4 separate regions of the Homo sapiens genome follow, and all the other regions are linked to region 1. The links are contacts of gene promoters, found by promoter capture Hi-C in blood cells and fetal thymus (Javierre and others, 2016). All regions are on one chromosome and are shown on one strand. Each heading gives the region's core, a stretch centred on a gene start or on the middle of the fragment in contact. The rest is flanking DNA. Distances are from core to core; before and after follow the strand shown. Region 1 holds the start of TGFB2 (transforming growth factor beta 2). Region 2 has its middle 120 kb from the start of LINC01710. Region 3 has its middle 23 kb from the start of LINC01710. Region 4 overlaps LYPLAL1-DT (LYPLAL1 divergent transcript).

Region 1 (3,068 bases), core at 500-2,999:
GAGGACCTAACTGGATGAAACTACTAGTCTGACAGTAGCGCCTCTTGATTATCTTTTTCTTGGGCTACTGGGATGGTAGCTTTGCTTCAACTCAAAACTGGTATCAAGGAAAGGAACCTGCTGGTGCTGATTTATACATAATTTTTAGAATTATTCAGAAGTGGGTTGGAACAATTATTTTATTCCAGAGTTTTTCAATGTGTGATAATGGAAAAAATTCTGTATTCAAGGGAGTTTGGAAAATGCTGGGTTAAAAGAGTGAAAAGGTTTTCTCTTCTACAGGAGTTTCAGAGCCTTTAACATGATAATGTTCCAGAATGAGGAATCTAAGAGGACAGGAGAGTACCCAGTATCTCCCAAACTTGTTTGACTCCAGAATTCCTGTTTGTCAGAACATATTCTGGGACCATTGTTTCTCAGAAGTACATAGTAGGTAAGAACATAGTGGATCCTGACTGCAAAAATCCAGCTCTACCACTTACTGTGGTCTCGAACAAAGTACTTAACTTCTTTGTACCTCAGTCTCCTCATCTGCCAGATATGGATAATAAGACCCACTTTATAGGTTCATAGTGAAGATTAAATGACCATACACAACACACATCAAATTACTAAGTGTAGTATATGTTAGCTATTATTATTTTATTTATTCAGTGCTCTACTAATAACCTAGGCCCCATACACAACTGAAGTATAAATTCCAAAAGTGATAGAAAGTTCTTTGTGACTTTTCTGAACTCAGGAACATCTGAAGTAGAGAACAGTATAGAGATCTTGGGTTTGGGAGTACATTCAACAGAGTTTCCAGTTTAAATCATCTGTCTGGTCAGTATGGCTGCAGAGTCATGCCGAAATGAAAATGTTGACTTTGAGTAACTAAAGGTAAAATAAAAGAAAAAGGGAAGGTGGAACAGTGGTAAGAGTTATTCTTGTATTCATCTAATTTAGACTTAGTTGAAATTGAAAATGTCAAGTTATGAGTAGTGTAGAACAGTAGACATCAAACACTTAAAATTCCAGCTTCCTGGATTAATGCTATGGAAAGAATGAAGTTGGTTGATAATGTTTAGCCTAGCAAGAAGGTGAAGAAGAAAGCCATACAAGAAGTGGCTTAGGCAGCAAATTATAAAGGTGACCATTCATTCAAATCAGTAAAACAAACAAGTATACCTTATTCTTTAGGTAAAATTGATGGATCTCTGTTTTCCAGCAGTTCACAAACAGAGGGGTACATTGTAAACAACAAACTAACAAAATAAATTCTGGGATGGCAACCTGCTAAGGTATCCCAGAAAATAAGAGGTAGGACATGAATTTAAAAGATTGGAAGGTATGTCTTCAGTACTGGCCTGGCCCTGAGTAGACTAGTGCTCCCTCCCATAGGGGTGCGTGTGCACACATAATACAGGAGGGAAGCCTTCCCTTCTAGAGCAAGTGATTCAGCTTGGGAGGCTGTGACTGAGCTACACTAAGTAAAAACGGGAGACTTGATTGTCCTTCCTTCAACAGACCTGTCCAAAATGACTGGAAAGTAAATACCGTAAATCACTGTTGTCAGGGCGCACATTCCACCTCCTTCCTCCCTTACCCACAGCGGTCCTCATTTCCACACTCCCTCAACGGTTCGGGGAGAGCTCGTGGTCTAAGTAACGAGAGGACTTCTGACTGTAATCCTAGCACGTCACTTTGTTGAAGGCAGACACGTGGTTCAGAGAGAACTTATAAATCTCCCCTCCCCGGCAAGATCGTGATGTTATCTGCTGGCAGCAGAAGGTTCGCTCCGAGCGGAGCTCCAGAAGCTCCTGACAAGAGAAAGACAGATTGAGATAGAGATAGAAAGAGAAAGAGAGAAAGAGACAGCAGAGCGAGAGCGCAAGTGAAAGAGGCAGGGGAGGGGGATGGAGAATATTAGCCTGACGGTCTAGGGAGTCATCCAGGAACAAACTGAGGGGCTGCCCGGCTGCAGACAGGAGGAGACAGAGAGGATCTATTTTAGGGTGGCAAGTGCCTACCTACCCTAAGCGAGCAATTCCACGTTGGGGAGAAGCCAGCAGAGGTTGGGAAAGGGTGGGAGTCCAAGGGAGCCCCTGCGCAACCCCCTCAGGAATAAAACTCCCCAGCCAGGGTGTCGCAAGGGCTGCCGTTGTGATCCGCAGGGGGTGAACGCAACCGCGACGGCTGATCGTCTGTGGCTGGGTTGGCGTTTGGAGCAAGAGAAGGAGGAGCAGGAGAAGGAGGGAGCTGGAGGCTGGAAGCGTTTGCAAGCGGCGGCGGCAGCAACGTGGAGTAACCAAGCGGGTCAGCGCGCGCCCGCCAGGGTGTAGGCCACGGAGCGCAGCTCCCAGAGCAGGATCCGCGCCGCCTCAGCAGCCTCTGCGGCCCCTGCGGCACCCGACCGAGTACCGAGCGCCCTGCGAAGCGCACCCTCCTCCCCGCGGTGCGCTGGGCTCGCCCCCAGCGCGCGCACACGCACACACACACACACACACACACACGCACGCACACACGTGTGCGCTTCTCTGCTCCGGAGCTGCTGCTGCTCCTGCTCTCAGCGCCGCAGTGGAAGGCAGGACCGAACCGCTCCTTCTTTAAATATATAAATTTCAGCCCAGGTCAGCCTCGGCGGCCCCCCTCACCGCGCTCCCGGCGCCCCTCCCGTCAGTTCGCCAGCTGCCAGCCCCGGGACCTTTTCATCTCTTCCCTTTTGGCCGGAGGAGCCGAGTTCAGATCCGCCACTCCGCACCCGAGACTGACACACTGAACTCCACTTCCTCCTCTTAAATTTATTTCTACTTAATAGCCACTCGTCTCTTTTTTTCCCCATCTCATTGCTCCAAGAATTTTTTTCTTCTTACTCGCCAAAGTCAGGGTTCCCTCTGCCCGTCCCGTATTAATATTTCCACTTTTGGAACTACTGGCCTTTTCTTTTTAAAGGAATTCAAGCAGGATACGTTTTTCTGTTGGGCATTGACTAGATTGTTTGCAAAAGTTTCGCATCAAAAACAACAACAACAAAAAACCAAACAACTCTCCTTGATCTATACTTTGAGAATTGTTGATTTCTTTTT
Region 2 (3,160 bases), core at 176-2,675, 690 kb after region 1:
GGTCAGGAGTTCGAGACCAGCCTGGCCAACATGGCGAAACCCCGTCTCTACCAAAAAAAAAAAAAAAAAAAATTAGCTGGCAATCGTGGCAGGCACCTGTAATCCCAGCTATTTGGGAGGCTGAGGCAAGAGAATCACTTGAACCCAGGAGTTGGAGGTTGCAGTGAGCTGAGATTGTACCACTGCACTCCAGCCTGGGCAACAGAGTGGGACTCCATCTCAAAAAAGCTGCCTAGAGACTACTGAAAAAAAATAGTGTAGCACTGTTTTGAAAGACATCTTTTTTAGGTTGGTGTTTCTGCCAGAGGTCCCTTCTTTAGGTATCATATTTCAATTCAAGATAGAAGAGTGTTACTTAGAGCATAATGCCCTAGTAATCAATTTAGGTTTGAACATTTCATATATTTAGAGCTTAAGGTTTCAGTTTGGGGTATTCCTTATGAGAGTCACTTTTTGAGAAAGTTTGGATCTCTCGGCATTCTGAAGATTGCATAGATTTCATGAGGCATGACAATGAGTTAGCTATAAAAGCATAAGGATTTATGGATTCTATGTCCTATTAACTGCACATAAGTTTAAAAGAAAGGAGAGAACTGGGCTGTACAATATGCATTTCAGATTTTGCTGAATATAGAAATTTTGAAATGGCTTAAAGTGTTAGCCAAACCAAAATTCAGTTAAATTTACCCAATTCTGGTTTATACCACGGATTTAAGTCCTCTTCCCATTGGGTTGCTTCCCAGAGTGTGCATTATCTGTTGATTGCTTTGAAATATAGATCAATTTTAGCAAAAAATGATATAAACAGAAAGGAATATTTTGTTCTTCTGCATCAAAACTGAAATGCAATCTAACATATAATTTATACTCTATATCATTGGGCTTGTTTTTTGTGTAGTAAAAAAAATGTTTTTTTAGTACCTAAAAAGCTATTGTTTTGTATTATAATAAAAACTCTATTGATGTGCATCTGTAAAAGGTTTAAAGTTATTCTCAGTGTCATTTGTCTTAATGCCTTTGATCTTACTTTCAAATTTCACTTATATTACAGCTAATGAAATGTTACTTTAAAACTAAAAAGTATACAAACAGGTTGGCTTGTTAAATATCAGGCAAACAGATTAATGTGATTTGTTTAATTTTGCCTCTAATAACTATAACAATAGAAAAAATCCTATGTGTTTTCTCCATTTCAACTATAGTATGTAGAGCATATATGAAAGCTTTGTAACTACACGTTCGATGTGACTACCATTATGGTCAGTGCTCTCAAATAAATTTTTATCTTTAGGAGATAAACTGTAGTATATCGTATATTTTGGTTTTAGTAACTCCCATCAAAATTCAGATAAGTACCTGAACTTTGTCATCTGAACTTTACTCGAACTATCCAAACTTCCTTTAATTTGTGATTCAAGCCTGAAAATCTCATGAGAACAGATGCTCTTGTAGGTTTTCTTTACTTCCTGCTTCCATTGTGGGAAACAGGTTTCCACAGAAATTTTTACATGCATTAAGTCTGAATGCATGATGCCTAGGGACTTTTATCCATTCAAATTCAAATTCGATATTGTTTTTACCCAGTTGAAATTTCAGTTCTTATCTGAACTTATCTTCTCATCTGAAGAAAGCTTAGTATCTCTATTATGTTCTAGTAGTTTTGGTCGCTGTTCTCTCCTTGAAGCTCTTTCTTTGTTAATCCTCTGTGGCATTGGTTTTTCTCAATACTCCATCTAGAAATACTTCATCTCTTGATGCTCCAGTTGCAGTTACATCTTATCAATTTTTGCTTTGACCTTTGTTTACTCTGAATGATCCTGCATTATTTGGTATTTTCCGGACTTTTCATCCACATAGTACATGTACATTGAGCACATTTTGTGTGCCTGGCACTGTTACATGCACCGAATTCAAAGCAATAAACAAAGGAAGAAAACCCCAAATCCTGCTCTCATGAAACACAACTCGTATTGGGAGTAAGCAGATAAGCAATACAAATAATTTAAATATTCAATATATTAGCTCTAAGTGCTATGTGGAGAACTAAAGCAGAGGGATGAAAGTCCTGGGAAGGGGCATAGTATTAGTAAGATTGGCAGGTAATTAAAACTTAAGGAAGTGAGGGTACAAAAAAGAGCTATCTGAAGGAAGGCCACTCAGGCAAAGAGAAAGCATCTGAAAAGACTTGGAGACTGGTGTATGCTTTGTATACCATTTGGCTCACTTTTCTTCTCTCTCTACATCTTGTCTATTGCTATGGAGTAAGTTGTCAACAAATATGCTCATAACTCTTGTTAAATAAAATGCATAGGAAGCCACTGGTTTGGACTAAGTTCCTGCACTTAGTCCCAACAGACCAAACCAAAATGGAGGCACTCATGCTAAAGTTCCACACCCCAAGCCAAAACTGACTTCACATCTGACGTTCTGAGAAACCAGAAGCATGAGAGATAATAGCCAAAACCCCAAACCGACCAGTTTTAACTGGTATGATAAGAAAGCCCTCCCTGCTTTTAATCTCTGCAAGAAAAGTAACTTTGAAACAACCAATCCACTTTTTGTTCTCTGTTTCTGCTTTCATCAACCCATTTCTCTCTACAAAACCAATCTCCTCTACTAAGCCCATTGTAACACTCATTCTATTTTATAGAATAAGGTGTTTCTAACTCTAGAATTACAAAAGCCAATTAAGATCTTGAAACTAAATTTGTTGTAATTTTATCTTTTATAGTTCTGGCAACCATGAAGGGACCCCAGTGACATGTCCCTTGAGGAACACAAGAGAGACACTGCTGACCCCTTTTAAGGTTCTCGGTCTTCACAGAGCCTGGGGATTGCAAGTTTCTCTTAGGTCAAATTCTGTCCTTTTTTCATTGAGCTGTTTGATCTTATGGCTTTCAAATCCAGCGTTAGCTTGTGTTGTGAGAGGGTACTTGACCTTTGGGTTTGCAGGAGCTAATGAATTACTGGCAAGAACTGCAGTTTTAAAGGTAAGTGACAGCAATTGCAGTAAGTGGTTTTTACTTCAGGAGGCACAAACACCAGCTCTTGGAATTTGCAGGCATTTGGGTACTGAAATGGTTTGGCTCTGTGTCCCCACTCAAATCTTATCCCAAATTGTAATCTCTGCGTGTCAAGAGAGGAACCCGGTGGGAGGTGA
Region 3 (3,026 bases), core at 225-2,724, 600 kb after region 1:
GTTTCAAAAGGGAAACAGAGCATAAACGTTTGGAAAATTTTCAGCCTGACAATGCGATAGAAAAGAAGATTCCATTTTCTGAGGAGAAATTCAAGTTGGCTGCAGAAATTTGCATAAATAACGTGGAGCTGAATGTTAATCCTCAAGACAAAGGGGAAAATGTCTCAGGGCATGTCAGAGGTCTTCACAGCAGCCCCTTCCATCACAGGCCCAGAGACCTAGGGGGAAAAATGATTTTGTGGGCCAGATCCAGGGTCCCTGTGCGGTGTGAAGCCTAGGGACTTCAATGTAGAGCTTGGGGCATGGTTTCTGAGGGTGCAAGCCTCAAGCTTTGGCATCTTCCATGTGATCTTGAGCCTGCCAGTGCACAGAAGTCAGTGGTTTAGGAACCTCTGCCTAGATTTCACAGGATGTATGGAAATGCCTGGAACTCCAGGCAGAAGTTTGCTAAAGGGCAAGGTTCTCCTGGAGAACCTCTGCTAGGGCAGTATGGGAGGTAAATATGGGGTCAGAGCCACCACACAGAGTCCCTACTGGGGCATTGTTTAGTGGAGCTGTGAGAAGTAGGCCACCATCCTCCAGACCCCAGAATTGTAGATCCACTGACAGCTTACACTGTGCACCTGGAAAAGCTGCAGACACTCAACAAGAGCCTGTGAAAGCAGCCAGGAGGGAGGCTGTACCCTGCAAAGCCACAGGGGAGGAGCTGCCCAAGACCATGGGAACTCACCACTTGCATCAGCATAACCTGGATGTGAGACATGGAGACAAAGGAGATCATTTTGGAGCTTTAAGGTTTGACTGCTCTGCTGGATTTTGGACTTGCATGGGGCCTGAAGCCTTTTTGTTTTGGCCAATGTCCCCATTTAGAATGGCTGTATTTACCCAATGCCTGTACCCCATTGTATCTAGGAAGTAACTAACTTGTTTTTGATTTTATGGGCTCATGGGCATTAGGTACTTGCCTTGTCTCAGATAACACGTTGGACTGTGGATTTTGAGTTAATGCTGAAAAAAGTTAAGACTTTGGGGGACTGTTGGGAAGGCATGATTGGTTTTAAAATGTGATGACATGAGATTTGGGAGGGGACGGGGTGGAATGACATGGTTTGGCTCTGTGTCCCCACCCAAATCTCATCTTTAATTGTAACTCCCACAATTCCCACATCTTGTGGGAGGAGCCCTGTGGGAGTTGACTGAATTATGAGGACAGGTATTTTCTGCACTATTCTTGTGACAGTGAATGAGTCTCATGAGGTCTGACGGTTTTAAAAGGGGGAGTTTCCCTACACAAACTCTCTCTTTGCCTGCTGCCATCCATGTAAGATGTGACTTATTCCTCCTTGCCTTCCACCATGATTGTGAGCCTTACGCAGCCATGTGGAACGGTAAGTCCATTATAAACCTCTTTGTAATGCCCAGTCTCGGGTATGTCTTTATCAGCAGCATGAAAACAGACTAATACATCATATGCGTTCTAATATTGATTTGATATTTCTCCATGAGCCATTGGTAATATGCTTTGAAGAGGGGGTATAAGTGAATTTAATTAAATAACTTAGCAGTAGAAGTGAGGCAGAGACTGAAGACAAAGGGAAAGGAGATCTATGAATTTCATTTGATTGATTGTGTATTGCCTACAGAAGGCAGTTTGGGGACTGAATATTTCTATGTGACACTTTAAGCCACCAAAGGAAGCATGCCTCTAGGATGCTGTGTTGGAAGCAGAGGTTTCCATATGGTCCAAAAAAGGAAATGGGAAAGTAACAAAGATACAATTATTCTTCTGTGCCCTAAGGTTGTCCATTTTCCGTATTTGACCACTCTCCTCTCCCAGCATCTTCTCATTTTAGAATCATGCTTCTTTCTGCAAGAGCTGGGTGTGGGGTGGTGAAAACATAGAAATTTCCAGTGAGAGAATAATCAAGTCACATTATTAACAATCCATTTCACTTTAAACAGTAAAGAATGTGCTACAGTGTTCTTAGATGCTTGAAAATAAACTGAGGTCTAACTTATTTAAGACCCAAACAGCTAAAAATTGGGTTGGAAGTTATTTATTATTTGGAAAATACTTTTTTTTCTGAATCCAAAATGTAATTTCCTTTTACTCATATTTTTTTTTAAATTTAGACAGATAGTGATCTTCATCAAAAAGCAGATACCCCGAAGATTTTATTTAAGCAGAAAACTCTGGAGAATTCCAGTGCATCAGAACTGCTTCTACACAAATGACTCCATTTGTATCTATTGTTGGCTTTATTTACGAATGATGAGCCAGGATACCAAAGAGCAGTCCATGATTTATCGCCTCCCAATTTTGTCTCTCTGGGGAAAGAATTCTGGATTATTATTCAGCACTGGGCAGGATGCCGGAGTTCAGGGGTTGGCAGGAAGGAAGGGAACCCTCCTTAGAACAGGGGCTCCCAGTAACGACCAAATGAAAACAAAGGAAGATGAGAAAAGGGTGGAGGCTTGCTGTGGGTTGCTGACTTTCTGAGTTTCTATTTTAGATCCCTTGCACGGAATCTTTAGGGTGGATGCCATTTCTAAGCTATTATGAAGGTCACCAGAAATGGGATCTGGCATCTGGATTGCTTTCTAAGTGAGTTTTACACTAAAGCTTTACCAGAAAAAGCGCCTTAGCGCTTACTGTGAAAACATTATCTGAAGGTGTAGCCTGACACTGTGCTTTGCCAGCAAACACAGAAAAAATGAGCATAATAAAACCTTCCATAGTTCAAGATCATTCAGGGCTCCAGTGCAGAAAATATTTATCAGATTGGAGCTGTTGCTGTAGAATGTGAAATCTTTTCTCTCTTGCCTTACTAAACTACACTATTCATTCTTATTGTTTGTCCTCTTCTTTGACATTTTCTCTAACTCTTTGCTGTTTTCAGACCCTAGGCACATGAATTTCCCAAAGGCCATCATTTATTTTTCTTTCCATATCAGCTCTTCCCTCGACATCACACTTACTCTCAGCTGCTATGTCTACATAAATAGTTCCCCAACTCTCATTCTGA
Region 4 (2,939 bases), core at 38-2,537, 770 kb after region 1:
AAATGTGATTAATCAGATAAACAGAACTAAAGACAAAAACCACACGATTATCTCAATAAATCTAGAGAAGGCTTTCTATAAAATTCAAGACCCCTTCATGTTAAAAACTCTCTATGACAAACACACAGCCAAAATCATACTGAGTGGGCGAAAGCTGGAAGCATTCCCTTTGAAAAATGGCACAAGATGATGATGCCCTTTCTCACCACTCCTATTCAATCTAGTATTGTAAGTCCTGCCCAGGGCAATCAGGCAAAAGAAAAAAATAAAGGTCATCCAAATATGCAGAGAGGAAGTCAAACTACCCATGTTTGCAGATGACATGATTCTCTATCTAGAAAACCCCATAGTCTTGGCCCAAAAGCTCCTTAAGCTGATAAACAACTTCAGCAAAGTCTCAGGATACAAAATCAATGTATCACAATAAAAATCACTAACATTCCTATACACCAACAACAGTCAAGCCGAGAGCCAAATCAGGAATACAATCCCATTCACAATTGCCAGACACACACACACACACACATGCACACATGCACAAAATACCTAAGAATATAGCTAATCAAGGAGGTGAAAAATCTCTGAAGAAGAACCCCAAAACATTGCTCAAAGAAATCAGAGATGACACAAACAAATGGAAAAACATTCCATGCTCATGGATAGGAAGAAACAACGTCGTGAAAATGGCCATACTGCCCAAAGCAATTTATAGATTCTATGCTATTCCTATTAAACTACCACTGACATTCTTCACAGAACTAGAAAAGCTATTTTAAAATTCATATGGACCCAGAAAGAGCCTTAACAGCCAAGGCAATCCTAAGCAAAAGAATGGAGCTGGAGACCATTATCCTTAGCAAACTAACTCAGGAATGGAAAACCAAATACCACATGTTCTCACTTATAAGTGGGAGCTAAGTGATGAGAACACATGGACACAAAGAAGAGAACAACACACACTGGGGCCTGTCAGAGGGTGAAGGGAAAGAGGGAAGAAGAAGGTCAGGAAAAGTAATTAATGGGTGCCAGGCTTAATACCTGTGTAACCAAATAATATGTAAAACAAACCCCTATGACACAAGTTTACCTATTTAACAAACTTGAACATGTACCCTTGCACTTAAAATAGAAGTTAAATTTTAAAAAATAAAATAAAATAAAATAAAATAAAAAATATATACATGGCAGCATCTTCTAGGCCCTCAGAGCAGGAAAAATTAATTACTTTATATCATAAAGAAAAGAGAAATGGAGTGATATCACAACTCCATTTTAGATATTGTCCAAAGAAGAAAACCTCAAACTCCAAGCTATCCAATATTCATTAAAATTCAACTAAGAATATGACTGCCTTTCAAATGTATTATTCATTCATTCAGTCAAGAACTACTTACTAAGCACTCAATATATGCAAGGCACTGGAGGTATAACAGTGAACAAAACAATTTACCTGCTTTCATTGAACATATCCTAGTGGAGTGAGGTCGATAAGCAAATAAATAAATATGTATTATGTCATAAGTGCTAAAGAGAAAAATAAAGCAGAATGTTTTCTCCTGACACCACCCCCGCCCCCCACCGCCAGATTTTCATCTGGATTCAGTATCCTTTTACCCCAGTTGAATTTTTTAATTTACTGCACTTTTACAGCAATGTGAATAATATGTACTGAACAATCCATAGTCAACAATTTCACAGAAGTCATATATATAAAAAAAGGAGGCAAGATTACATCTAATTCATTTTATTTTCTAAAAAGTTTATTTAACAAATACTTCTATTGCACTTAGTTTGTTCCACACACTGTGCATTATGCATCTCATAATGATATTATGAGATACATAAAGTATCCCTATGAGATCTAAAAGTATCCCTATTTTCAGGTGGGCAAAGTGAAATACAGATTGGATACTTGTCCAGATCTCCCATAGCTAGTGCATAGCAGGTGAACAGCTGGCACTAGAGCTCATTATTGAAACCTCTACTTTTTGGTGCTTTCCTGGAGAAAGAATATTTTGATAGGGATGACAGCATTTTAGATAGATTTCAGTAGTGCTATATAGAATAGGCATATGCCAAGACAGATGACAAAGAGGAATAAATGAGTTTTTGAAAGTAAAATGTTACATGGAGAAATAATACTTTGAGCAAAGACTACAGAGAAGAATTAACAAAAATATTTAATTTTTAACCAATATTTACTAAAAACCTAGAAATAGCAATAAAACTGGTGGACCAGTTGAAAATCTAGCTTGCAGACATTTTTTTTTTTTCACCAAGAAAAGTGTTTTTAGTGTGCATGATTTTAAGCAATACATGCCTTTCTGGTTGTTGCAAGCTCATCACTCTTGACAGGTTTACAAGGGGCAGGGTTGCTTCACACATTTATGTCATCTGCCTAGCCTTTGAAAGTATTAGGATTCTCAGTCCCTCTACCAAGAAGACAATTAAATATTGGGAATGGAGAGAAATAAGATCCAGTCCTTGTGTTTGAATAGCTCACTCACATTCATTCATTCTTCAATTCACCAAATATGTTTTAAGTGTCTAATATATGCAGGATCCAAGCAGGTATAGGACTATACGATGAACAGAACCAATAGTCTTTGCTTACATGTAGCTTTCTAGCAGGAGAAGCAAATAAAGCTTATTAATTTTATGATTAACTATGAAGTTACACTGCTACTAATTGTCATAAAGGATAAATTTAATTGTTGAGAAGATATAAACATATAATTAAAATTTAGAGAGATAACCAATAATAGTAATAATTATATGGCACTGAGAGAGCATAGAAGAGGGACATCAAACTGAAACTGTAAGTTCAGGGATAAAGGAAGGGTAGGTGGAGTCAGGGAGGAAATTTCAGAGAAGCAATCCATCTTAAACAAAGTATTAACATAAGAAAGAAGGAAGAGATCATAGTTTCTATTGTTATT

Evidence for each region. Contacts are between HindIII fragments. The CHiCAGO score rates a contact against its expected background, and 5 or more counts as called.
Region 2: a fragment that was not itself captured here is called in contact with the fragment with the promoter of TGFB2 in region 1 in 1 of 17 cell types (endothelial precursors); the score reaches 5.5 in endothelial precursors.
Region 3: a contact is called between a fragment that was not itself captured here and the fragment with the promoter of TGFB2 in region 1, in 1 of 17 cell types (endothelial precursors). The highest score is 5.3, in endothelial precursors.
Region 4: a fragment that was not itself captured here is called in contact with the fragment with the promoter of TGFB2 in region 1 in 1 of 17 cell types (megakaryocytes); the score reaches 5.3 in megakaryocytes.

What each region holds. Positions count from the first base shown.
Region 1 is chr1:218,343,587-218,346,654 of GRCh38, forward strand. It overlaps TGFB2 (transforming growth factor beta 2), which reads left to right and starts at 1,750. Exons shown (of 7, transcript NM_003238.6): 1 at 1,750-3,068. TGFB2-AS1 (TGFB2 antisense RNA 1) reads right to left here and starts at 2,092. Exons shown (of 3, transcript NR_046268.1): 1 at 2,017-2,092; 2 at 1,589-1,802; 3 at 610-876. RefSeq lists a silencer at 1,678-1,737 and an enhancer at 2,118-2,167. The HindIII fragment of the contact is 5,586 bases long and covers 1-3,068 here.
Region 2 is chr1:219,036,255-219,039,414 of GRCh38, forward strand. No RefSeq gene overlaps it. Among named protein-coding and RNA genes, the nearest start is that of LINC01710, 120 kb to the left of the region's middle. The HindIII fragment of the contact is 408 bases long and covers 1,222-1,629 here.
Region 3 is chr1:218,940,199-218,943,224 of GRCh38, forward strand. No RefSeq gene overlaps it. Among named protein-coding and RNA genes, the nearest start is that of LINC01710, 23 kb to the left of the region's middle. The HindIII fragment of the contact is 2,294 bases long and covers 328-2,621 here.
Region 4 is chr1:219,117,687-219,120,625 of GRCh38, forward strand. All of the region lies in intron 3 of LYPLAL1-DT (LYPLAL1 divergent transcript), which reads right to left. Among named protein-coding and RNA genes, the nearest start is that of LYPLAL1-DT, 55 kb to the right of the region's middle. The HindIII fragment of the contact is 2,714 bases long and covers 1-2,644 here.